6 separate regions of the Homo sapiens genome follow, and all the other regions are linked to region 4. The links are contacts of gene promoters, found by promoter capture Hi-C in human tissues and cell types (Jung and others, 2019). All regions are on one chromosome and are shown on one strand. The core of a region is centred on a gene start or on the middle of the fragment in contact, and the rest is flanking DNA. Distances in the headings are between cores, read along the strand shown.

Region 1 (4,402 bases), core at 730-3,229, 1.1 Mb after region 4:
CACTGTGATGAGTCGCATTGCGGAATCAATCTTTAATTGCAAACTTTTTTCCTGCAACAGTCAAAATTCTTGGGTGATGGGCAGACAACTGGAAGGCGGGTACCCTGTTTTGTATAGGAACATCCTTTGTTTATAATGTCTGCTCTGTTTACTTAATCCAGACCTCACCATTTTACTTTGATCCCACATAAAACTCAAGAAGCAATATTAAGAACTAACACTGGGCTAGGTGCAGCGCTTTGGGAGGCTAACGTGGGAGGATTGCTTGCGCCCAAGAGTTCAAGACCAGCCTGGGCAACATAGCAAGACTCTATCCCTACAAAAAATAAAAAAACTAGCCAGGCCTGTAATCTCAGCTACTAGGGATGCTGAGGCAGGAGGATGGGTTCAGCCCAGGCGTTCAAGGTTACGGTGAGGTATAATCACACGAATAAACTCTAGCCCAGGCACCAGAGTGAGACTATCTCTTAAAGAAAAAAAAAAATGATTAGCCTCAAAGGAACCCCTAGTATGTCAGGAAGATGAGACAGTATCTAATATAAATTATTTTTTACAAGGTAGAGGAAAGTAATTCATATTCAGAAAGAGGTTGTTGAGGTGACATTGGAGATGTTTGTACATTTTGAGTGAGTCAGTTCTAGCTGGGGGCCCATTTGTCTCAGGATCACTTGTGACTGAGAAAGAAGAGAATTTTGCCTCTAGGACATTATTTTAAATTTATTCAAAATTACATGCAAAAATAGTCACCCACAGATGGTTACTCCGTAGCTTGCCCAAATTGAACAGATCGTTCCAGAACTGTTCTCAGAGGTGGATAAATGCCCACTTTACAAATCCCCAGTTGTCAGTCTTCAGAGACTAGAGAGAAATGGAATGCAGCTGAGAGAATCTAAACTCTTCCTCAACCCTTGGAGGAGGTCTCTTCCCAGGGCAGGATTCAAGTGCATCTGCTTTGCTGCAAGGCAAGTTCCCTATTGAACGAGAGCTCAACCCAGAAGATTTCAAAAACCATGCCTGGGGACTTTTAAGACCACATTTTACAAACACTTTAAAATGTGGTTTTGATGCTGTTAACCTTTAACCATGCTTTTTTTTTTTTTTTTTTGAAAAAGCTCTCTGTTTAGAATCTTGCAACTCTCTCAGACGAACTACAGATCATCATTTCCATAACTACACCAACTTACAGCGAACTTCTTTCTGGTGTTTATTATCTGTATTGCCATTCATTGCCTCTTATTGCTTTGTTGTTGATGTTGTTGTTGTTTTTATAAGCAAGCCTTGAACTCTAGGAAGATTGTAAGCATCTTGGGGTTAGGGGATAGATATTTTATCTCAGTCTATTTGCTTTAAACAAAGTAAGTTCTAACATTGCGTATTGAGTACTGTACTTGTTAACAATTCTCAGCATGTGAAACATATCATTTGTGCAGCTTGGAAAAGTAACTTATATGATTATACAGAATGTTTGTGATTTGGTCAGGGAGTATTATTTCCTCTCATTAATTGCCGTGTGCAGAAGACTTAAAGTGGAAATAGTTTTCACTGGAGAAAAAGAAAAAGGAAAACCATGTTGATTCTTACTGCCAGTCACCACAGACTGTAAGCCTTAGTGCTTCCAGGCAAAACGAATAAGTCAAAAGTAAAAGTTAGACCTTTAAAACTTTGTTGAAACTTTTAAAGAAAGAATATTTATTGGAGAGAACCAATTAAGTGAGTGTTGGGGGGGAAATTGCTCAAGTTTATGACAATAGAACCATCTTTGGATTATTTATCATCACTTCTATAAACTGTCTTTAAGTATATACTGACCATATACTTTGCTCAGGATGGTCCTGGTTTGTGCTCGATGTCCTAAGAAATTATCAATAGCTCCTCCCCAACCCTTCCACACACAGCATGTCACAAAGGGGATACTAAATTTTATGACTGCTACGCAGATTGAATGTCTTAGTCAAGATCTCTACTTTCAAAGAATGAAAAACCACGCAAATCAATCAATAAAAAGTGGTTTTTCAGATTAGATAATTGTATACTTTGCTAGTTTTGAACCACTCATCAGATATTGGACTGTTTTAATATGCTGCCAGCATTATCAAATAATAAAGGTAAAAAATAGGTATTTCTGGTCAGATTCTGGACTAGCTTACTATGTGCAAACTTTCAAAATAGATTTTAGTATTTCTGATATTTGCGCTTTGTTCATGCAAAGTAAATTAGAATCTGGTGTATTTAAAAGAATGCACCAGAACATTTTAAAAGAATGTTTATTTTCTTCAATTAAAAACAATTCTTTAGAGAGAACATTTAGATCTGATTCTAGCTATTCAAACTAAGGAGAAATAAATGACTTCAACACAGAATGACTGACTAGGTATTTGCAGGGTGATTTGAAGTCCCAAGGGATAATGAACTTCTGTGTATTTCATAAGAGTGTTATTAACAAGCAAGTGGCTTTTTGGGTCAAGAGCTTGGTTCCTAAAAGTAATGTCAAACCCATCACATATTCTCAGAAGCATGTGCATTTAGGTTCAATCTCATTATGCAAGCTTATGTCAATCAATTTCCAGTTCCCAGTTTCCAAGGATGTTAGAAGAGAAATTAGTTCTTTACCTGAAAATTCTATTTGAAGTGGGAATTAGTCTTTGAAATAAACAAAACCATCACAAATACCAGCATGCTCCGGAAGAATTCATTCCTTTAAAGAGCAATATGTTCCCTCTGCTTCACTGAAGAAAAGGAGTTTGATGGGTAATTCCTAAATTATGTTTTAAAATGTTTATCATAAAGTCTTAGAATAATAGAAGTGCACCTGCAAAAATAAGCATATATTTTGGGTCTTGGTTGTGGTTGTGGCATATGCCTGTAAATGAGCAGAAGTAATTCCAACTGCTTTTGCTGTTATTGCCATTATTGTTTGTTGGTGATACTTTTATGGCTCTGGCAGCCTGGAGACAGAATTTCTTAGATAGATAAAAGATGAAGGGGAAGAATGGGAAGTGAGGAAATGAAAAGGGGAAGAATAGTGCGTGGTATGAATTATGAGAAATCAAAATATAATGCCATGTGACAAAATGTCAATCATTTCTATTTACCTCCACTATTAAAGTTATTAAATTAATCTTTAGAACTATAGACCTGGAAGTTTATTTGAGATGATCCCTGGAATTTATCACTACTATTAGTAATACCCAATTCAGTTCTTAGGTTCCCTTCATTGATATTAACTTACTTATTGGATGAAACTTCATTATCGTTCTTTCTTATGCATTCTAGGTACCCAATACTTTAACTGAAAAGCAAAATTTTAAAAATAGTCTTGAAAATTATTTTTAAGTTTAGAAAGAACCTGCTATAAACAGAAAAGGTGAGGTTGGAGGAGAGAAACTCATGAGAAACCAAATAGCCAAAGTAATGAGTAGCCCTTTTTTGAGAACTTATTAAACTAATCAATGGTAAGAAAATATCTCTAAAATAATTGGGAAAACTAGACTAGTCACTATTTTTTTTTAAATTTTTATTTTGATCTTAGGAACAGCATGAAAATTATGTAAATTCCTGTTTTCTTCGTGATGATACCAAATTATGTATTAACAAAATTGAATGATGTCTGGAATGTGTTTTAAAGCATTCTAAAAAAAAGTAGTATTACGAAACAAGATTTCAAAATATTGATTATTGTTGAAGATGAATTATGGGATTTCCATAAACTAAAAAAACCAACATTGTATTTCATGTAAGTTAATAAGCTGAACCTAAAATGTGCATGATTGATCAAAACCCTGGAATTAGACAAGGCACTCCTGAAGAAGAAAGACATGAGAGGACCTATCTTATCATATTTCAGGACTTATTACAAAACAGTATTAATTCATGCATATAACAATTAATTATTGAATATCTGTTATTTGCTAGGCATACTTATTGATGTTTAAAATACAGCAGTGACAGTATAGTATTGGTGCCGAGATAGACAAGTAGATAAGGTGAATAGAATATAGAAGCCAATGATGGATCCCTGCATATATTTATACTTAATATATGACTTGCCTGGGAAGAAAGACTCAACAAATGCTGCAGGAACGATTAATCATTCACAATAAAATAAATAAAATTTGATCTCTGCATAACTTGCCTACACACACACACACACACACACACACACACACACACGCAAAATCCTCAGAACACACAGATTAGATTCCCGGCAGATTATAGACATAAAAGATAAAAACTAACGTCTTACAAGAAAACATAAGCAATGTATTTGATCTGAATGTAAAGAAAAATGTCTTAAACAAGGTGCAGTAAGTGCAAAGCATAAAAAAGTTTATAAATTTGACATTAAAATTAAAAACTTCTGTGTATCAAAGCATCCTGAAGAAAAAGTAAACACACACACAGA
Region 2 (3,995 bases), core at 1,468-3,967, 1.1 Mb before region 4:
ATTTTTTTAATTTTTTTATTTTTTAGAGATGGATTCTTGCTATGTTGCCTAGGCTGGTCTCAAATTCCTAGCCTCAAGCAGTCCTCCCACCTCAGCCTCCTGAGTAGCTGGGATTACAGGCATGAGTCAACATGCCTGGCACCATGTGTTTTCTTTGACGTTGAGTTTTTCTTTATTTGTGAAATTGACACAGTTGATGATGTAGGAGAATTTTAAGTAAGACGTGGGGTAGGGAGTGGCAGTAGAATACTTGAACTCATTGAACTTCAAAGATTGCTTCCAGTCTTTTAATCCTGTGAATTATTACACATCTCCAAATGAATGCAAAAGAATACATTTTATTTTTTAATCTGAGAAGTTTTTAAAATTTAGTATTTTTCCAAAGCTTAAGTTCTGTTAATATTTTTAATCAATTTTGAACCATGTCTTAGAAGTGAGTTAGTTGAACAGGCTTCACAATCGTTAAAGTATGCTTTATGATATAGCTGCAAAGGGGATCTTTTTTTGAACCTTTTCAATTTAATGACTGCATCTGTCCGTGTAATCCACATATATTTATGCGTAATTTATTTTACATTCCAGATGATCTCAACATAAGTGGCATCATAGCAGCCGTAGTAGTTGTGGCCTTAGTGATTTCCGTTTGTGGCCTTGGTGTATGCTATGCTCAGAGGAAAGGCTACTTTTCAAGTAAGTGAATTTCACCCTTCTTTGGCAGATAACTTTCTATGGCTATGGAGTTTATTTATGAGATACTGTTTCTCCTAGGAAGTTGTTTTTTTGTTTGTTTGTTTGTTTTTCAGACAGAGTCTTGCTCTGTTGCCCAGGCTGGAGTGCAGTGGTGGCAAAATCTCCACTCAATACAACCTCCACCTCCCAGGTTCAAGTGATTCTCATGTCTCAGCCTCCCAAATAGCTGGGATTGCAAGTGTGCACCAACACACCCAGCTCATCTTTGTATTTTTAGTACAGATGGGGTTTCGCTATGTTGGCCAGGCTGGTCTCGAACTCCTGGCCTCAAGTGATCTGCCTGCCTTGGCCTTCCAAAGTGCTGGGATTACAGGTGTGAGCTATTGTGCCCGGCCCTCTCCTAGCAAGTTTTAACAAACTCTGGAGAATATTGTTCATTTATTTTCTGCTATAGAAAATGTTCAGGATGACATGCAGGTGGCTTATGAAACACCTTGGCAAACCTAGGGAGAAAAGGCAGAACTGCCTAGTTGCACATTCCAGGGAGCACCACAGAATATGCAAGAGGCATCCTTGGAGTGGTGCAGTGCAGCGAGACAGAGATATTCAATGTGAACGGATATTTATAGTATCTTTGCATGTTTTTAAGATTTTTTTTTGTTTGTTTTTTTGAGACGGAGTCTCACTGTGTCGCCCAGGCTGGAGTGCAGTAGCGCAATTTCGGCTCACTGCAAGCTCCACCTCCCAGGTTCACACCATTCTCCTGCCTCAGCCTCCCGAGTAGCTGGGACTACAGGCTCCCGCCACCACGCCCGGCTAATTTTTGTATTTTTAGTAGAGACGGGGTTTCATCGTGTTAGCCGGGATGGTCTCAATCTCCTGACCTCCTGATCCACCCACCTTGGCCTCCCAAAGTGCTGGGATAACAGGTGTGAGCCACCGCGCCCAGACAAGATATTTTTAAGTTAGGAATTGTATATCTCAAGATATAAGTTGATTTCAAATTCTTTAAGAAATTTCATTGAAATAAATAAGTGAAATATTTCATCAGTGTAGAACAGTGAAATGTTGAATGTTAAATTTAGGACAACTGTATTTAGAAGAGAATTGTTCAGCTGGGTGTGGTGGCTCATGCCTGTCATCCTACCACTTTGGGAGTCTGAGGCGGGAGGATTACTTGAGGTCAGGAGTTCGAGACCAGCCTGGCCAACATGGTGAAACCCCGTCTCTACTAAAAATACAAAAATTAGCCAGGAGTGGTGACATGCACCTGTAGTCCCAGCTACTGAGGAGGCTGAAGCAGAAGGATCACTTGAACCTGGGAGGTGGAGGTTGCAGTGAGCCAAGATCATGCCACTCCACTCCAGCCTGGGTGACAGAGCAAGACTCCATCTCAAAAAAACAACAAAAAAAGAGAATTGTTCAGTCAAAAATAGAAACCTATTGTATTTATGAGAGCTACTTCTGTACACAGTTTTGAATTCTTCAAATTTAGACCTCTTGTAACTTCACACCTCCATTTGATAATGCAATAGGTTTGATGTAAATGGGTGGGATTTAAAAATGTTTTATTCTCTTAATGCATTTCTTCACTCCCTCTTTAATATTATTGGAGAGCTCAGAAGCTGCAGCATTCTATCAGGGCCACTGGCAATAGTGTGTAAAATAAAATTCTTAATTGAATTATAAATTTATAGCATATACAAGTTCTAGACCCATTGTTTTACAGCGAACATTAATTTCGGAATTTAGATTTTTAAAACAATTTTTTTTTTTTGAGACAGGGTCTCACTCTGTCACCCATGCCTGGTGCAGTGGTGTGATCAAGGCTCACTGCAGCCTTGACTTTCCGGGCTCAAGCAGTCCTCCCACCTCAGCCTTCTCAAGTAGCTGGGACTACAGGCACATACCACCACACCTGGCTAATTTTCTTTTATTTTTTGTGGAGACAGGTTCTTGCTCTGTTGTTCAGGCTGGTATTGAACTCCTGGGATCAAGGAATCTTCCCATCCCAACCTCCCAAAATGCTAGGATTACAGGTGTGAGCCACCACTCTTGGCCTTTAAAAATATATTTTATGCCAAAAATAAACTTAAATATAAAATGTGTTCCTAATAATACCTACAACTAGGTATTATGTCTCATAAAATGTTTCCGTGGACATGGATTCAAAGAGATGCCCTATAATTAAGAATAACTGGGCTGGGTGTGGTGGCTCACACTTGCATTCCCAACACTTTGGGAGGCCGAGGCAGGAGGATCACTTGAGTCCAGGACTTCACGACCAGCCTGGGAAACATAGGGAGACCCTTTCTTTACAAAAAATAAAAAATAAGCCAGGCATCGTTGCACACACCTTTAGTTCCAGCTACTCAGGAGGCTAAAGTAGGAGGATCGCTTGAGCGCAGAAGGTCGAGGCTGCAGTGAGTTGTAATCTCACCACTGCACTCCAAGCTGGATAACAGAGCAAGACACTGACCAAACAAACAAACAAAAAGAGCGGCTCTGTCAATTAATACTTGTTCAGTGCTTCAATTTAGCCCACTTTAATGTAACTTTATGAATTGAATCCAGCTGTGGCCCCCTGCTGGTCATCAGTGAAAGTACAGACAAATAAGATAACTCTTCCAAAACTCTTGTCATCTTTATCTATAGCCTAAAATAATACTGGTCTGAGTTTTTTTAATGAGGAGTTAGTAAAAAAATTTTCCTAAAATATTGAATTAATTAAAAGTTGACTTGAATATTAGGAGTTCGTTACCTAAGAATGTTACTCTGATTTTTCATCTAGCAGAAAAATCTATCCAAGAGAAGCATATTCTTGAATATATGTTTAGGACAGAGGTTGGCAGACTACTATCTGTGGACCAAATCTGCCCTCCCCGCCTATTTTTCTATGGCCTATGAACAAAAATGGCTTTACAGATGAACATTTACAATCTATTTGATGATAGGGCCCGCTGACTTTGAACCCCAATTAAGAGAAATGTTATCTTCCCCAAAAGCATTCCATTTCTCTAACTAGTAGGCCTGTTTTTCAAGACTTTTATTATTATTGTTATTATTATTATTATATTTTTATTTTATCCATAAAAATGTTTGGAAATTTGTTTGCTCTCTTGTTACTTAAGTACCTATATAGTATCCTCTTGGCCCCAAAGCCTAAAATGGTTGCTGTATGGCTCTTTACCAAAAAAGTTTGCCAACTCTTAATTTAGAAGGTATAAACGTCAGCAAGTGAAGATTAAAATTAATAAAAATAAATTAAACCCAAACTCATTTTTATATGAATCTGTATCATACCA
Region 3 (4,093 bases), core at 528-3,027, 1.2 Mb before region 4:
AGATGGGGGAAAAGTATAACCCTAACAATTCATTTTTCATAGAACATCCTCATACGCGATTATTGTAGAATCATTTGTGAAATGTTCTATCTGCGTCACCACATTGGATAAAAAGCAATGTGAAGTGAGGGGAGAGGGATGAGAAGCAAGTATTTATAGAGAATCTACTGTGTGCCAAGAGGTAGGCTAAGCAATTATGTACATGATTTTATTTCATCTTTACAACCAGCTAGGGAAGGCATTACTAGCTTCATTTTACTTAAACTGAGGCTGTAGCTTATCCAAGGTGACGTGGCTAGTAATTCACAGCACTGGGTTTCAAATACTGGGTTATGACTTCCTAAAGACAGAATGATTCTGTTTCCATCTATAATGAAGACTAAGACTTAAGTTGCATTTCTCTAATAGACTACTCTTTTCTTACCTTGCTAGACTCTAATGTTGTCTTTTATTTAATTTTAGATGATACTTACTCAAAAAGCCAAGCTGCTGAAAATAATAGTGGTAGAATACAATTTAGTTCTTTATCCCAATGGGGGTAAAGTCAGTTCTGATACCACCTTATTAAGACTAAGTGCTAAGATTATGTGCTAAGGCTGACTCTAAATAATTTCAAAACTTTTGGTAGATTCTGTCATAAATCCAGTTCTCTTCATGCTATGACAAACATCAAACAGCCATTTCACTTGAGTTATATTACGACAATTAGACTTTTGCCTACCATATCTGGACACAAATACCTTTGTTCTTCTTTCCAATACTCAATTTGAAAGAGTTTCAAAAATTTGACCTTGGCTGCGCATGGTGGCTCATGCTTATAATCCCAGCACTTTGGGAGGCCGAGGTAGGTAGGTCCCTTGAGCCCAGAGTTTCGAGACCAGCCTGGGCAACGTAAAGAGACCCTGTCTCTACAAAAAACACAAAAATTAGCCAGGCATGGTGGTATGTGCCCACAGTCCCAGCTACTCAGGATTGCTGAGGTGCAGTGATCGCTGGAGCCCCGGGAGATCAAGGCTGCAGTGAACTATGATCACGCCACTGCACTCCAGCCTGGGTGGCAGAGCAAGACCCTGTGTCAAAATTTAAAAAAAAAAAAATTGACCTTTATCCAATAGCACAAAAACTCATTTCCTGACCATTCTAGGAAGCAGCTCCAAAGGTCCCACTGATTTTAATGTGTGCAGATATTCACTAAATTATTTATTTTATTGGTCTAGTTCACTGATCCTAAAAAAGTGCGTGTTGGTGTTAGCTCACAGTTGGATGTGTAGGACTAGTTTTGAACTAAAAAAGTCAGAGAACTGTTTTTACCAAAAGAAAAGGGAAATTGTGGTTCCTGGATTTACAGGACCCAAGAAATCAGGGTAGCTAATTCTTAGGAATCTTGCCTGACAATTGTGAATATGACAGTTAAGCAATGCCAAACCATTGTTTCCATGTTCTGCACTTCAAAATAAATGGTTCTTGTTTTTTGGCTTCCTGAGGACTAATCAAAGGAAGCATGAAGCAACAATGGCTGGGAAGTTTCCCTTGGTTTTCAAATTTCTTCTGTAAGCACTTGTGGTAATAGAATTTAATTAATAACACTTGTATGTAATGTAAGGGCCAAGATTTTATGAGTCATCTTCCAGCAGGAAAGTTGAAAAATAAAATTCACACAGCTCTCATATTTTAAGAAATGAAGTTTGATAGAAAGTGTGCATGCTAAATCATTGGCCATATAAAATCTCTAGTATTTTAAAGGCTGAATATCAGATCATGGTCCGTGGAGACCATTTCTTTCTCCCAGCTTTGTGGGTGGTAAAATCGAGAAAGCTTAGTAAACTCATTAATAAGTAGAAGCCCAAAATTATGTGGAGTGGGATATTAGTTCCCTGTGTAAGAAAAATAATACAAAAAAATGCTTATTCTTGCAAATTTTACAAAATGTGCATGCATTGCTAAGCCTTCCCCACCCACCCTCACTTGGGCCTTGGTAAGTACTCTTGTAAGGGTTGGTCCCAAAACTTAAGCCTTATTAAACTCATGGTCAACCTGTATCCCTTTATGTGCCTATTTATTATATACAACCTATTTTAGAAAAAGATTATCTTTTTCTTTATTTTTTTTTTCTTTGAGACAGAGTCTTGCTCTGTCACCCAGGCTGGAGTGCAGTGGCACAATCTCAGCCCACTGCAACCTCCACCTCCCAGGTTCAAGTGAGTCTCCTGCCTCAGCCTCCTGAGTTGCTAGGACTACAGGCGTGCACCACCACACCTGGCTAATTTTTTGTATTTTTTTAGTAGAGATGGGGTTTCACCATGTTGGCCAGGCTGGTCTCGAACTCCTGACCTCAAGCAATCTGCTGGCCTTGGCCTCTCAAAGTGCTGGGATTACAGGCATGAGCCACTGCGCCCAGCAGAAAAGGATTCTCTTTGTTTGAGAAATGCTAAGATAACCTCATTTGCAGATTATACATTTAACAGATTGGTGATATTAGAGAATCCTTTTGATCTCTTTTTATGCTAATCTCTGCCAAACACATTAAACTGTTAGTGATTGTGGAAATTCACTCAGTAAAGCAGAGAAGTAAAACTACAAAGATATAAAGGAAGTTTGAAACAATACCAAACATCTACGTAGCGTGGGAGGTGGAGAGAGTTTAGTAGATGGTAGTGATGTATCTTGTCACATACATTGTTTAAGCAGCTATTTTTCTTTTTCTTTCTTTCTTTTTTTTTTTGTTGAGGTGGGGTCTTGCTGTGTTGCCCAAGCTTGTCTCAAACTCCTGGGCTCAAGCAATACTCCCAAATCAGCCTCCCAAGTAACTGGGATTACAGGTGCATGCCACCACATCCAGGTGGTTTAGTAAGTAACAAATACCTGTGGAATAATTATTTCTCTATCCCTGACCCAAACAGCCCCTGAGAAATCTGGGTGTGTATCAGCTGTTAGGGTGTTTTGTGCAGAGATGCACAGATTCTCACAGAATTTCAGAACCAGAGTTCAAATCCAGGTTCAGAGACTCAGTTTTAACCACTTGCCCAGAGCTGATCAAACTCTGGAGAAATGATTTACAATACCTAATCTTAAAAATGATTTATTTGACAAGTAAATGAGTAAGTATATTTCTAGTGAGAAATAGAACTGCCAAATGCTGGCAGTGGTTCTGTACTTTTAATCTTTAAAAGCTGTATCTAGGTCTAGGAGTTAGGTAACTACAATTTCAGATTAAAGAGCAATGAATAATCCTAATTTATATAGCTCTCAAAGTCTGATGCACCATCTCTGCTGTAGAGGTGCGCCTATACACAACGCAGACCATGTCTCATTAGTAAGGAGGGCACCCAGGCTTGTTGTTCTTTCTCTCTTTGCCATTACGCCAAGTGTCTGTTTTGATGTCTGACATCTTTCATATTCTTCTACTATCCACTAATGAAGTGTTAGGGCCATCGTTTTGTTTTCTGGTAACTTACTCTTAAGGAGAAGCAATTAGAACACAGAATGGCCAATAACCATGGCTTCCACTGAGTATGTGGCTCTTATTAGCATCCATTTTGGAAGGGGTATTTCCTTATTTTGTCTTGATAGTCTACTAGATTTGAATTGACTGTTGCCGTCTATCTAAAATCTATAGTTAATGTCACAGGTAAATGAATTGTGTTTGGCTGAGATTGTCACTTGGGGAAAATCAAAGACTACAGAATCCTAAAATGGCTTCTTCATGTCTGATGAGGAGTGCCTGGTGAGACATTCAGCCACTGATGGTTTTCCTGTACCACTGGCTACCATTACACAATTGAACATGTGCAGGACAATTTTTTTTGAAATTTTTGGGAATTTATTTTACTTCGAGAAGTTAATTTAATTACTTCATCTCTTTCTAATATCACTGAAAAATTTTAATCTAGTTGTTTGTGCAATGGAATGCCCTGGAAGTTTTCCTGAACTTAGTAATGCATGTAACTTATATGAAAATAACTTTATCCTCAATTCTGAATCATCAGTAGTCCCTCTTATACTTAAGTTGTCGAAGAACCAGAAAAGGGAGAGGGCATAAAACTTTTGTGCATAAATATACACGGTTTATTCAAATTAGTTCATTCACCATAAA
Region 4 (4,628 bases), core at 232-2,731:
GTGGAAGGAGTCAGGTTACAAACTCTCCCTCCCCGGCCTAAATGCTTTGCTTTAGTTTGCAGAAAATCGTTTGTCAGTTTTTTTCTTGGTTATTCATTATTCGGGCAAATGCAAGTATGTTTTCTAGCTGAGTTCACCAATCCAAACCTCAAACCACATTCCTCCACTCCAGGCCTCCGTTCTGTCCGCGGACTTATGATCCTGCCTGCCAGCAGGAGTCTACCCTGAAGTCGCGTGGGATAGATAAAGTGAGGAGAGGAGGATGAATGGACAGACAAACGAGAGCAATTCTTCTACCTGTGGGCTGTCCTACGCCTTGCAGTGCCGGGTCCTGCGGCGACCACTGAGCCCCTTCGTCCTCGCCCTCAGTCCCTTCGTCCTCGTCTTCGGTCTCCGCTTTCCCAGTCGGCCGGGGCTCGTCGTCCACGACCCCGCACGTGCCGCCGACGTCGCCCTGCCGATTCCGCCGCAGGAGGTGGAACTGTAGTGGTGCCGGCGGCTTCTCCCCTGGGGCGGCGGTGGCGAGGCGCTCGCTGGCGGCGGGCAGCGGCTGGATGAAATACGCCTCCCCCAGCAGGTAGAAGGCGCCGCGCACGCCCTCGCAGAGGCTGAGGGCGGCAGCCGAGCTGGGATCGCCATTCACGGTGCCGGAGTAGAAGCAGTGCGCCAGGTCGGTTTCCGGAAGCGGCGTCTCGGACCCGGATTTGCGCCCCACGTTCTGGAGCGTGAAGCCGGGCGCCAAAAAGCTGCTGTCGGGCCGCAGCTCCAGATCCAGCTGCTGGTCAAAGGCGTGCAGGCGGAGGCGCGTGGTCCCGTGTCCCGGGGCGCGCTCCAGCTCCGGCACCACTAGCTCCTCGTCCTCCTCGGAGGGGCGCCCGAGTGCGTCCGACACGGCCAGTAGCGCCGCGGCGAGCAGCAGCAGCGTGGGTACTGGCCCAAAGCTCCGAGACCCCGGAGCCCGCTCCGCGTTCCCCATGTCGCTGCCCAGCTTGCGCCTTCCGAACCCCTCGGGCACAGCTCGCTGCATTGGAGCCCCAGGAGACACCGCTCGTAGCAGCGCACGGAGCGAGGGACCTTTAGTTCGGGTCGGGAGAGCAAAGCCTCGTTGGCCTGCTCTGGATTGTTAAAATTAACAATTTCTATTATTCGTTGGAAGGGCGCGCAGAGCCGGCTACAGCCGAAGCTCCCGGAGTCACTAAAAGGAGGCGCTGCAGTTCTGCCGGCGCGCGGGAAGTTTTTCTTCCAGCGCAAAGTTGGAGACACTGAGAGGCAGGCGCAGGCAGAGTGGCTCTGCTGGGACAAGAAGCGCTCTGGGGCGCCTCCGGGGCTGAGGCAACGCGGAGATTGGTGCCTGGCGCCCCTCTTCGGCCTCCGCCTTGGCTGCGATGTTGCTCACTCTGCTCAGGGCTCTCCCCTCTCCGTCCGGTAGCGCACCCTGGCTTTGCAATAGCCCCTGGCTCGGAGCCGCTTTCCAGCGAGTGCAAGAACCGGGCAGCCGAGCGGTCCTTTTATAGTGGACCAGTGAAACCCCCACCCCCACCCCACTCCTCCCCTTTGGCCCTTTTCCATCCCAAAGACGCCGCCCCCGGCTCCGTTGGTGCTAAACCGCGCTCCGCGCTGCGGGCTCGGGAGGGGGAGGGGGCAGCCTCCGCGCTGGCTCCACGCCACTGCTCGTCAATCTAGGGGCGGAAGGGGCGCTGTGACCAGCACTTTGTACTGCTGGGGCCGCTCCAGGGAGAAGACTCTCCCTTCCACCGCTTTTCTCCCTCGCCGGTTTCCTGGACCACCCTTCCTCCCCACCGCCCGGTTGCGGTAACTCAGTTACCGCGCTGGGCTGCGGTTCCCAGGAGGGAGGGTTCGGTTGGAGAACGCAGTCCCTTCTTCAACATTTCCCTATCCTGGAGCTGCCCTGGGTCTCCTTCCCTCCTCCCTCAGTTCCCTCTTCCCCAATCTAGGAGATGAGCTAGGGCTACACTTTCTAGAAAAATACCTCACCCCACTTCTCCACCTTCCCAGCCTGCCAGGAGCTCCTTAGCCGCCGCCTGCTCTCTCTTCGCCCCAGCTTTTCTAGGGAAAGCTTGGCCCTGCGCTTCCCCCAGAAAGCATGCCTGGGTGAGGGGCCAGGTGACACTTCCTACGATCTGGATTTTAAAATATGTTTGCTTATGCCTTCACCCTCCACCAACCCCCACCCCGCACGCCACCTCTTCACCAGAGACGACTTTGTGAGGGCCCGGTTTCACATTTCTGGAATGGGTGATCTGGGACGCGGCTCAATTCCCTAGAGCATAAGGAGGGAATTGCGCTTTTTCTTCTTCATTCGAGAAATGATCGGCTCCCGCCAGTCTGCGTGCTTTCACTCAACAGCAGCTGCAAGCCCTAGGCCAGCGTCGCAGAAACGGCCAGGAACCCCACTTTCCTACCCGGGGGCCAGCAGCGATCGCTGGGGCTAGCAAGCGTGCAGAGGGGGAAAGAAGGAAATCGGCTTCCTTCCCGGACCCCTCCTTCCTCTTCCTACCAGGAAGGGAAAAGGCTATATCCGCGTTACGAAAGCGAGGAGAGGTCCACCAACAGGTCCTTAGGAAAAAAAACTGAGTGGCTCTTCTCTCCAAAAAGTGGGAGGGGCTCAAGGACCCAGAGGAAGGACGTGTTTCACAGGCGGAAAGCCGCGGGGACAATGGCGAGAGCGACCGCCCTAGCCCCGGGCGGACCCGCAACCCTCACACTCGCGCGCCCCCGCGTTAGTGCTCGAACTGGTCTCCGCCTTTCCGCCCCACTCCCGTCCGGTCTCTTGGTTGGCTCCAAGTAGATCTGGGTCCTTTCCTCGCTCCTCCCCAGATCTTCCCCACTTCAGTTGGCCCCAGCCAGAAGCGTCCCTTCTAGTTCTCCCACACGTCCCTCTTACAAGCTTTCTTTTCCGGATGCTTTCCAACTTCTTTTTTCCTAGCGAGATTGCTTACTTGAAAAACAAAAACAAAAACATTGCTTTCCACTCATCAGGAAAAATCAAATGAGCAAGAATGGCAGAGAGAAGCAACTCAGCTTACTTCTGAAGGGCTTAGTAACGACCTCTAGTCCCTACACATTTAGGAGTGGGTGGTTTCGTAGATTTAATTTTGGTTTCCTAAAATCACCCTCATCGTTGAACGTTGAATAATCAACCAAGGCCTTAGATATATTTTGACAGCGCTCGATTAACATTCTGATAGTGTTTCTGCCTACCTCTTTTCACTGAGTCTCTCCTTTGCAGCCCTCGCTGTCTCTCCCCCCCTCCCGCCGTTGCATTTCTCCTTCAAACTCAACATTGACATCCGCACACCTGAGTGTGTGATTCCTTTCTGCATTGTCAAGCATTGTCCAGCCTACCTCCTTCTCTTCGACTTCGAACTACGAGGATTATTCCTTCCTGTTTCTCTGTTTCCCAAGCGTCTTTTCCCAAACATCTGATCATTCCTACTTCCCAGTTTGGTTTTCAGACTTTTTTTTTTAACATTGTTATCTTCTATTACAGTAATTTTTTGACGGTCCATTTTCTATGATTTCATTTCATTTTACTGGTTCTTTCTAGCTAGAAAAAAGGCAAGATACTTGAGAGAACATATGAGGAAAGTCATGTTAGACTTTCAAGATATTGACCGCGGGATCACAAAAGCTTGAAGGCAAAGCCATCCGTACATTTTCAACCTCTTGCTTAGAAAAGGGCTCAGAAGATAATATATGGTGACAACAGTTACAGCCTCAGAGTGGCTTTGAGATGGAGATTTGAGATGGAGATTTTGGACACTCATAATCTCCATCTCAAGGAGAGGTGGCCCAGAGGCTGAATGAAGATGAGTGAAGGTAGATGTGATTCCCTTAAATTGGGGCAAAAAGGGACAAAAACAGCAGAAAATCTGTATCTTTAAAGACATATGTAATGTATTTCAGTCTATCAACTTCTCTACATAAACTTTAGCTTTTAAAAATATGTTAACGTAAGTTTGACCTTTAGTGTGTTTCTACCTGCAGGGTATTCTTATTGGAGGTTTGTTTAAAAGCATACATTTCTGATCTTGAATGGGTTACTACAAATCCATTATAATTGTTTCATATTTCATGTTGCAGATACAAGTAGGGTTGAAAAAACAGTGAGTTAAAGGCAAAAGGATGGCCGGGAACATGGCTTTTTTATTCTCTGGGTTTCTATCCAGATTTCTGTTCTTTTGCATAATGACTCCAATCTGTTGTGCACCTGTAGTTCTGGGAAATGATTCTTTTTTAATCGCTTCAACAGAGACATGGATGTTGGAGTTGCCAACTACTAAGCTGAAAAACTCCATCTATGCTCAGAAGAACATTTAATCCACTTACTTTTTCTCTTTTATTTAAAGATTAGCACTCATCAGGCATTTGTGGTAATATGCAAATATATACATAGGACATATATGTATATTTATAAGCAAAATGTGAATTGGAAAAACATTTGAATGTAGAAACAAGACCACAGGAGTAAATTTGTACAAGGCACTAGTAAAAGTGACATGTAATATGGGGTTCTTGTAGTGAGTTTCATAATCCAATTTTTGCTCCTTGATTTGAATGGGCACCCAAAATAACACATGCTATCCTAATCCCTACTCCCCATATTT
Region 5 (4,150 bases), core at 1,167-3,666, 1.1 Mb after region 4:
AATGTAAAGTAGTACAGCCATATGGAAGACAGTATAGAAATTACTCAAAAACAAAACAAAATAAAACAAAACAAAAAAAGCCTGTAATCCCAGCAGTTTGGGAGGTGAAGGCCGGCAGATCGCTTGAGGTTAGGAGTTCGACCAGCCTGGTCAACATGGGGAAACACTATCTCTACTAAAATTACAAAAATTAGCTTGGCGCGGTAGTGCATGCCTGTAATCCCAGCTACTTGGAAAGCTGAGGCAGGAGAATTGCTTGAACCCAGGAGGTGGTGGTTATAGTGAGCCGAAATCATGCCAATGCACTCCAGCCTGAGTGGCAGAGCAAGACTCTGTCTCAAAAAAAAAAAAAAAAAAAAAAAAAAAAAAAGAACTACGATGTAATCCATCAATCCCATTACTGGCTATATATCCAAAGAGGGGAAATCAGTATATTAAAGACATATCTGCACTCCCATATTCATTGCAGCAATATTCACAATAGTGAAGCTATGGAATCAACCTAAGTGTCCATCAACAGATAAATGGATAAAGAGTATCTATATGTATATGAGTACATATATGAAAAAATATATATGAATCCTAAACTTTGTAAGAAATTAGTATAGTTTTAGGCTTACAGAAGAACTGTGAGGGCGACAGAGTTTTCATGTGCACCACACTGAGTTTTTATTGTTGCAAACATTATACATTAGTATGGTAACTTTTTTTACAATTAATAAACAAATACAAGTATATTATTTTAACAGTAGTCTACACTTTATTCAGGTTTCCTTGGCTTTAGATTTCTGTCCCAGGATCCCATCAAGAATAAAATTACATTTTTCTGTCATGTCTCCTTAGGCTACTGTGGGCCATGACAATTTCTTAGAGGTTTTCTGTTTTTGATGACTGATATGGTTTGACTGTGTCCCCACCCAAATCTCAACTTGAATTATATCAGTAGAGTGGAGAGTTGCTGAAAAGATACCCAAAATATGTAAGCAACTTTGGAACTGCATAACAGGCAGAGGTTGGAACAGTTTGGAGGGCTCAGAAGAAGACAGGAAAATGGGGGAAATTTTGGAAAGCATGATTGGTTCTGAAATGTGAGGACACGAGATTTCGAGGGGTTGAGGTGAAATGATATGGTTTGGCTGTGTCCCCATCCAATCACTTGTTGAATGGCTTTGATAAAATGCTGATAGTGATATGAACAATAAGGTCCAGGGTGAGGTGGTCTAAGATGGAGATGAAGAACTTATAGGGAACTGGAGCAAAGGTGATTCTTGTTATGTTTTAGCAAAGAGACTAGTAGCACTTGTCCCTGCCCTAGAGATCTGTGGAATATTGAACTTGAGATTATTTAAGATACCTGGCAGAAGAAATTTCTAAGCAGCAAAGCATTCAAAAGGTGACTCGGTGCTGTTAAAAGCATTTTGTTTGGGAAGGGAAACAGCATAAAAGTTCAGAAAGTTTGCAGCCTGACAATGCAGTAGAAAAGAAAAACCCATTTTTTTGTGGAGAAATTCAAGCCAGCTGCAGAAATTTGCATAAGTAGCAAGGAGGCTAATGCTAATCCCCAAGACCATGGAGAAGATGTCTCCAGGCCATGTCAGAGACCTTCAGGGAAGCCCCTCCCATCATAAGCCCAGAGGCCGAGGAGGAAAAAGTGGTTTTGTGGGCCAGGCCCAGGGTCCACATGCTGTGGACTTGGTACCTTGTGTCCCAGCTGCTTCAGACGTGGCTCCAAAGGGCCAATGTAGAGCTTGGGCTGTGACTTCAGAGGGTGGAAGCCCTAAGCCTTTGCAGTTTGCACATGGTGTTGAGCCTGTTGGTGCACAGAAGTCAAGAATTGAGGTTTGGGAACCTCCATCTAGATTTCAGAAGATGTATGGAAACTCCTGGATGCCCAGGCGAGTTTGCTGCAGGGGTGGGGCCCTCAGGGAGAACCTCTACTAAGGCACTGTGGAAGGGAAATGTGGGGTTGGAGCCCCCACACAGAGTCCCTACTTGGGCACTGCCTAGTGGAGCTGTGAGAAGAGGGCCACCGTCCTCCAGACCCCAGAATGGTAGATCTACCGACAGCTTGCACCATGCACCTGGAAAAGCCACAGACACTCAGTGCCAGCCCATGAAAGTGGCTGGGAGGGAGGCTGTACCCTGCAAAGTCACAAAGGTGGAACTGCCCAAGACCATGAGAACCCACCTCTTGCATCAGCATAACCTGGATGTGAGAACTAAAGTCAAAGGAGATCATTTTGAAGCTTTAAGATTTGACTTCCCCACTGGATTTTGGACTTGCAAGGGGCCTGTAACCCCTTTGTTTTGGCCAATTTCTCCTATTTAAAACAGCTGTATTTACCCAATACCTGTACCCCCATTGTATCTAAGAAGTAACTAGTTTGATTTTGATTTTACAGGCTCATAGGTGGAAGGGACTTGCCTTGTCTCAGATGAGACTTTGGACTGTGCACTTTTGAGTTAATGGTGGAATGAGTTGAGACTTTGAAGGACTGTTGGGAAGGCATGATTGGTTCTGAAATGTGAGGACACGAGATTTCGAGGGGTCAGGGTGGAATGATATGGTTTGGCTGTGTCCCCATCCAAATCACAACTTGAATTGTATCTCTCAGAATTCCCACATGTTGTAGGGGGCACTCAGGGGGAGGTAATTGAATCATGGGAGAACAGTCATTTCCATGCTATTCTCATGATAGTGAATAAGTCTCACACTATCCAGTGGTTTTATCAGGGGTTTCCCCTTTGCTTGCTCCTCATTTTCCCTTGCTGCTGCCATGTAAGAAGTGCCTTTTGCCTCCCGCCATGATTCTGAGGCCTCCCCAGCCATGTGGAACTGTAAGTTCAGTTAAACCTCTTTTGCTTCCCAGTCTTGGGTATGTCTTTATCAGCAGTGAGTAAACAGACTGATGCAATGACCTGAGAGTTTTGAGGGGGTACTCATCATGTACTTCGCAGAATGCTCAATCAGGTTTTTTCTAATGCTTTTCTCATCATAAGACATAGGTTATTGGTTTTTAAAAGGAAGACCACAAGGTAAAGTGTAATTCTCATCACATTACATTAAAAGTAGATACTGTAAGTATAATCTACCACTGATTTTATTGTGTATGTTTAAACTGTACAACATGTCTTGATATACATAGTGAAATAATTAGCATAATCAAGCAAATTAATGTATCTATCACTTTACATTGTTTTTGCGTGTGAGGTAAGAGCACCTAAAATGTATTACTGTTGATGTTAATCTTGATCACGTAGCTGATAGAGTTTGTCATTTTCCTTGACCATAAACTTACTTTTTTCCCCCTTTCTACACTGTAGTCTTTGGGAGGAAGTCACTGCACAGCCTACATTTAAAGAATGAGGGCTTATTCTCTACCTCCTTGAGGGCAGAGTGTAATGTAGATACTCATCTATGTTACTTTTACTCTTTATGTAAATTACTTCGAAATTTTCTGCATCAGAGATTTGTCTCTTCTCTCCTATTTGTTTATTCATTTATTTATATTGCAACATATTTGTATGGACTCACAAATATATTTTTTAAGCTGGGGTTTATATTCAGTATTTAACACTATTTTGTTTTTCAAGGTGTTCTAGCTTTGGCCATTGGGAGCTATTTTAGTTGGCTCCTGTGTCTTTTGTGTGTCTTTGACACAATTCTATCATTGTGAGTATTTCTGTTTGTTTGTTTTGGTTTTTTGCACTTGCTTGCCTTCTACCCCTACAAGGTATTCCAAGCACATCTCCTATATTTCTTGACTCAATCCTAGAACCAGCCATTTCTCCAAAGATTCATGGTTCCTTTTAACAGAGAATAGTATTAGGAACCAAGATCTAAGTGCTAAGTGGGCTTATTGCTACTTCAGTGTTGATGCTTCCAGACTATCTCAACTGACAGAGAAAAAAAAATGTGTGAGTATATTAACCCATGTATATACACATATTAATAAATATATCTATATTTCTATAGCCAGAAATATCTATATTAAGCAAAATGTAAGTTCATACTGGTGTATTGAAGTCTACTGTAATAACACATGGATAATTCCAGCCGTATCTCCTTGGTCACTGCAATCTCTCGTTCCAAAAGTAAGAAAACTGCCTGTCAGCCACTGTCAGACAATCATTTATATAGTTGTTCAAC
Region 6 (4,609 bases), core at 1,455-3,954, 1.1 Mb after region 4:
TGTTTCATTTCTACCTGTCCAGTTCTCAGGAACTTTCATCAATTGACTGAATGATTTCCTCTCTTCATTTTTCTCTATCAAATTACTTGGATATTGAATCTACTGGTTTGATTGATTCTAACATTATAATTCTTTACCTTTGATTTTTAAATCCTTCCAGTTTATACTGTATGTTGTTTATCTTCTAATCTTTTTATTGACTGTTTCCTTTGTATTATAGATGCCATTTCTGAGACCTTTTCTATTCTCTGGTGTTTGTATCATCCTCTTCTTGTTTTATGGATGCATTATCTTCTCTTATCTCTCTGAGGTGATTAAATGGCTAAAATGCAAAACTTTGGGAAAGGCTTGCATGAGTCTTTCAGGTAGATTCATTGCTCTCTGATGGATATCCAAAGATATGTGATTATATCTATCTGTTTTATGTGTATTCTATTATAATTTTCCCATTATTTAATGTTATCTATAAATTCCCAAGCTGTAAATCTTAGTAGAACTCACATTATATTTATATGTGTTCCTCACCATACTCTAAAATGCTCAAGTCATAAGCTTTCTTAATCTTTTTTGAATAAGGAATGGAAAAATTCACACAAAATACATACTTGCTTTTACCTTGTTTATAATTCTATCTTTAGCAGTCAGCAAAGTGCATGTTATGCTTTATATTCTCAGGATACAACTTACCAACAAATTGATGGAATTTGAAAGAGATTTTTTTTTGCTTATAAAACATTTTGGTGGCCCTAAATTTTCAAGCATGTGCTTTGTACTTGGGAAGCAATTCACCCATTTATTTGGCAACAGTATTTCTTTCATATCTACTTGGTGCTATGGAGAAGTAAATTAAAACAAAGTTTAAAAAATCTTGTGAATTTAATTATCCAATTACTTAGTTCATTACGAATATGTGCAAATCCGAATCGAATAAATAAACAATTCCATGAGGACAGAGGCTCTGCTATTTTACTTGTAATTACACTTTTGGCTCTCATGGCATCTATTTATTGTCAGACATTGTTTTTCTACGTAGATACAGTCTAGAGTAGATAATTATTAGATGCAGCCAAAATTTAAAAAGAAATTCAATGAAAGAAACCTTGTTTTAAGCTGAAGATTGCACAAATTACTTCTTCTCTCAATACCGTCTGATACCCACCATTCTACATAAATAATTTGTACATAGTTGCTCATTGCCTAAAAAAAAAAATGTTTGCCCGTGTGAGACATCGATGCATCAATAGTGCTTAATTATAATGACAGCTTCAAGCCACAGTATTTTTCCACATTTTTTTAGTTCTATGTTCTCTTAAAACTAGTCTACCTAGGCTGGGCGTGGTGGCTCACGCCTGTAATCCCAGCACTTTGGGAAGCCAAGGGCAGGCGGATCACAATGTCAGGAGATCGAGACCATCCTGGCTAACACTATGAAACCCCGTTTCTACTAAAAATACAAAACATTAACTGGGCGTGGTGGGGGGCGCCTGTAGTCCCAGCTACTTGGGAGGCTGAGGCAGGAGAATGGCCTGAACCCGGGAGGCAGAGCTTGCAGTGAGCTGAGATCGCACCACTGCACTCCAGCCTGGGCGACAGAGCAAGACTCCGTCTCAAAACAAAACAAAACAAAACAAAAAAAACTAGTCTACCTCTTCCCTTAGAAACTTTGCATCATTTAACAACTTGTGTTAGAGAGAATAATAGCCTCCCAAAAATGCCTATGACTTAGTCACCAGAATCTATTCATCTGTTACCTTACATGGAAAGCAGGACTTTGTGGGTGCTATTAAATTCTTGAGATGGACAATTATTCTGGATTATCTAGATAGATAACAATCTAATGATATAATCTCTTTAGAGCAGGAAATCTTTCCTAGCTGGGCCAGAGAGCAAGATGAGACAGGAAAAAGGAAAGAGTTTCAAAGAGTGAGAGGGACAAGCTTTAATGTTGCTAGCTTTGCAGATGGAAGAATAGGGTGAAAGGTGAGGAATATAGGTGGTTCCAGGAGCTGGAAATGGCCCTCACTTGAGACAGCCAAAAGATGGGAGCCTCCACCCTACACCACTAAGGATATGTACTCACCCAACAGCCTAAATGAGGTAACAGGCTTTTTCTAGAGCCTCCTGAGAAGGATACAGCCTGCTTGAAACCTTTGCTGGATTTTGGATAATACATTTGTGTTGTTCAAGTCATTAAATTGACTGTAATTTGTTATTGCACAATAGAAACCTAATAAACAGGCCTGTCACGGTAGCTCACGCCTGTAATCCCAGCACTTTGGGAGGCCGAAATGGGCGGATCGCCTGAGGTCAGGAGTTTGAGACCAGCCTAGCCAACATGGTGAAACGCCATCTCTGCTAAAAATACAAAAATTAGCTGGGCATGGTGGTGGATGCCTGTAATCCCAGCTACTCAGGAGGCTGAGGCAGGAGATTGGCATGAACCTGGGAGGTGGAGGTTGCAGGGAGCCGAGGTCACGCCATTGTACTACAGCCTGAGTGACAAGAGCAAAACTCCATCTCAAAAAAAAGAAAGAGGAAGAAAGAAAAAAAGAAAGAGAGAGAGACAGAAAGAAAGCAAGCAAGCTAATAAACACCATAACAATGCTTCTTTCTCTGAATTCATTTAGAACTTGCTAAGCATCCTAATGTAGTTATCAATGAGGAATCCTATACTGCATTGTAAGAAGACGTATGAATGTTTTAAAAAATATGTTTTTACAAGTCTCTAGTGTTTGAGTTTATTCAGGTCTATTGGTTCAAGGGTTCTAGTATTAAAGTCACAAGTGATTAAGCGCCACACTACACAATTATCTATCCATTATTTAGCACAGAGATTTGGAACAGAGGAGGCAAGTCAGTAGAAAATTGTATAAATTTTAGTACTTTTTATGATTTCCTTAAAAAACAGAAAATAAATGAAAATAAAATATACATTAAGTAAAAAGAGGTATAAATGTAATGTTACTATATATTTCATTTCTTGAGTAACATATGAAAGATTTTTTTAAAGTCACATTTAGGCTAAGACAATTTTCTTTAAAATAGCTCTGTTAAATTTTGGACAAAGTGTCTTTGCCTTTCTCTCATTCTTCATTTTCTCTTTCATTTTCTTTTTTCATCTATCCTAAGTACAGAAGTCACAAAATAGATAGCATAAAATATTTATTGAGCTCTTCAAATATCCATTCAAAAATTCTCTGATAAAGACAATTTTCAAAGCACCACCAAAGAGAGATGACTCAAAGGACCAGCAAGCAATTTAAATATCTCATGTAATACTTAATTTTAAGTATCTCTTTGCATATCTATCGGTCTCATTATTTTCCAAAAGTCTGACCCTGGAGTTCTGATACCCAAACTCATTTGAATGTATGGATTTTTCCTTCCTCATTAGAGTAGAATGTAAAGATTTTTCTTTCCTTATTATGGTTCAGCTCACTTATACCTATTAAATAACTGGTGAGAATGTTTTGACTTCATCTTTACCCTTAAATTTAACATTTAAATATAAATATCAGTTGCACTTTAAAAATTCACATATCCACTAAGCATTCAGTTTAGAAAGTGTTGTGTACATCATGAGAAATAGAACTGTATGATGTAAGATTTGTGCTTTATTTAGCATGGGTGATAAATGTATTTATATTACAGCGTACATGTTTGCTTTTGACCATTTTTGTTTTGTCCAAATTTTCACAATAAGGCCCAAAATATTCACTTGTATGTTCTCTTCAATCCTCTATCTCAATTCTACTTTGCATCCAAGTATCTGGGATGAAAAGAAAATTAGTCGAAAGTTTTAGGACTTTAAGTGAGTAGATTTTTATTACTGCCCTGAAAAAAAAAATTAAAAAGGAAATGTCATGAAAACAATGGGTTCTAGAAAAAAAAAGCTGATATTTCTAATACAGTAAGAAAATAGATGTAATTGTCAACTCCGAAGGAGGTCATTTCACTAGCACATCCTATGGAGTGGCTGAGCTGTTAGCAGCAGAAGGCTATCCTAATGACAAACATACAACCAAAAGCCCCAGACAAGCAAACTGTTGCACACAGGGCTGTGTGTGTGTGTGTGTGTGTGTGTGTGTGTGTGTGTGTGTTTGTGTATGCTTGCATATATGTTTCAACTGAAATCCACTTGTGTTTGAGCCTTTGATAATATTCGGACTGGACTTCGTGTTACTAAAATCTAGATTTCAAAGTGTGCTTTCAGAAACAGGGAACCCTGAGATGTTCCCTGGCTAGACGCTCTTTTGATGGATTCATGATTGCTGAGCTAGCCTTTCAAAGGGCCACAATAACTTTAATTCCAGGAAATAGCATCAGGTCAACAAATTACTTGCTTGTGGTCTGTTTGTTTTCTCAGGTCTGGATTTTCTTTGATCTTGGGTAAGCTCAAACTAATTTGGAATAAAATGAAAACAGTTCTCTGCTTCCCCACCTTTAATCAGTAATACCCCTGACTGTTTTAATTAGAAGCAAAAGAACAGTTCTCTGTCAACTCAAGGCAAAGGACACACAGTCCTGCCGTGGCAGAGGGAGTTGGATCCCAGGGTGGAAAGCAAGGCAATATGAAATAACGTTTGGCCCTATTTTCTTAGGGAAAAAG

What was found. The method cuts DNA at HindIII sites, captures the fragments that hold promoters and counts their contacts. A contact is called where the count stands out against the background at its distance.
Region 1: a fragment that was not itself captured here is called in contact with the fragment with the promoter of ADAMTS1 in region 4 in 3 of the 25 tissues and cell types used here (IMR-90 fibroblasts, dorsolateral prefrontal cortex and hippocampus).
Region 2: a contact is called between a fragment that was not itself captured here and the fragment with the promoter of ADAMTS1 in region 4, in 1 of the 25 tissues and cell types used here (bladder).
Region 3: a contact is called between a fragment that was not itself captured here and the fragment with the promoter of ADAMTS1 in region 4, in 1 of the 25 tissues and cell types used here (hippocampus).
Region 5: a fragment that was not itself captured here is called in contact with the fragment with the promoter of ADAMTS1 in region 4 in 1 of the 25 tissues and cell types used here (IMR-90 fibroblasts).
Region 6: a contact is called between a fragment that was not itself captured here and the fragment with the promoter of ADAMTS1 in region 4, in 1 of the 25 tissues and cell types used here (dorsolateral prefrontal cortex).

What each region holds. Positions count from the first base shown.
Region 1 is chr21:27,954,062-27,958,463 of GRCh38, forward strand. No RefSeq gene overlaps it. Among named protein-coding and RNA genes, the nearest start is that of LINC00314, 57 kb to the right of the region's middle. The HindIII fragment of the contact is 6,895 bases long and covers 1-4,402 here.
Region 2 is chr21:25,705,397-25,709,391 of GRCh38, forward strand. JAM2 (junctional adhesion molecule 2) reads left to right here. Exons shown (of 10, transcript NM_021219.4): 7 at 583-690. All of the region lies in intron 1 of LOC124905002 (a long non-coding RNA gene), which reads right to left. Among named protein-coding and RNA genes, the nearest start is that of ATP5PF, 28 kb to the right of the region's middle. The HindIII fragment of the contact is 5,528 bases long and covers 1-3,995 here.
Region 3 is chr21:25,669,409-25,673,501 of GRCh38, forward strand. The region is part of intron 1 of JAM2 (junctional adhesion molecule 2); the gene reads left to right. Among named protein-coding and RNA genes, the nearest start is that of JAM2, 32 kb to the left of the region's middle. The HindIII fragment of the contact is 4,887 bases long and covers 1-4,093 here.
Region 4 is chr21:26,843,928-26,848,555 of GRCh38, forward strand. It overlaps ADAMTS1 (ADAM metallopeptidase with thrombospondin type 1 motif 1), which reads right to left and starts at 1,482. Exons shown (of 9, transcript NM_006988.5): 1 at 298-1,482. The coding sequence starts at 1,027. RefSeq lists enhancers at 1,666-2,266, 2,267-2,866. The HindIII fragment of the contact is 5,494 bases long and covers 1-2,492 here.
Region 5 is chr21:27,913,656-27,917,805 of GRCh38, forward strand. No RefSeq gene overlaps it. Among named protein-coding and RNA genes, the nearest start is that of LINC00314, 98 kb to the right of the region's middle. The HindIII fragment of the contact is 7,334 bases long and covers 1-4,150 here.
Region 6 is chr21:27,936,449-27,941,057 of GRCh38, forward strand. No RefSeq gene overlaps it. Among named protein-coding and RNA genes, the nearest start is that of LINC00314, 75 kb to the right of the region's middle. The HindIII fragment of the contact is 5,541 bases long and covers 1-4,609 here.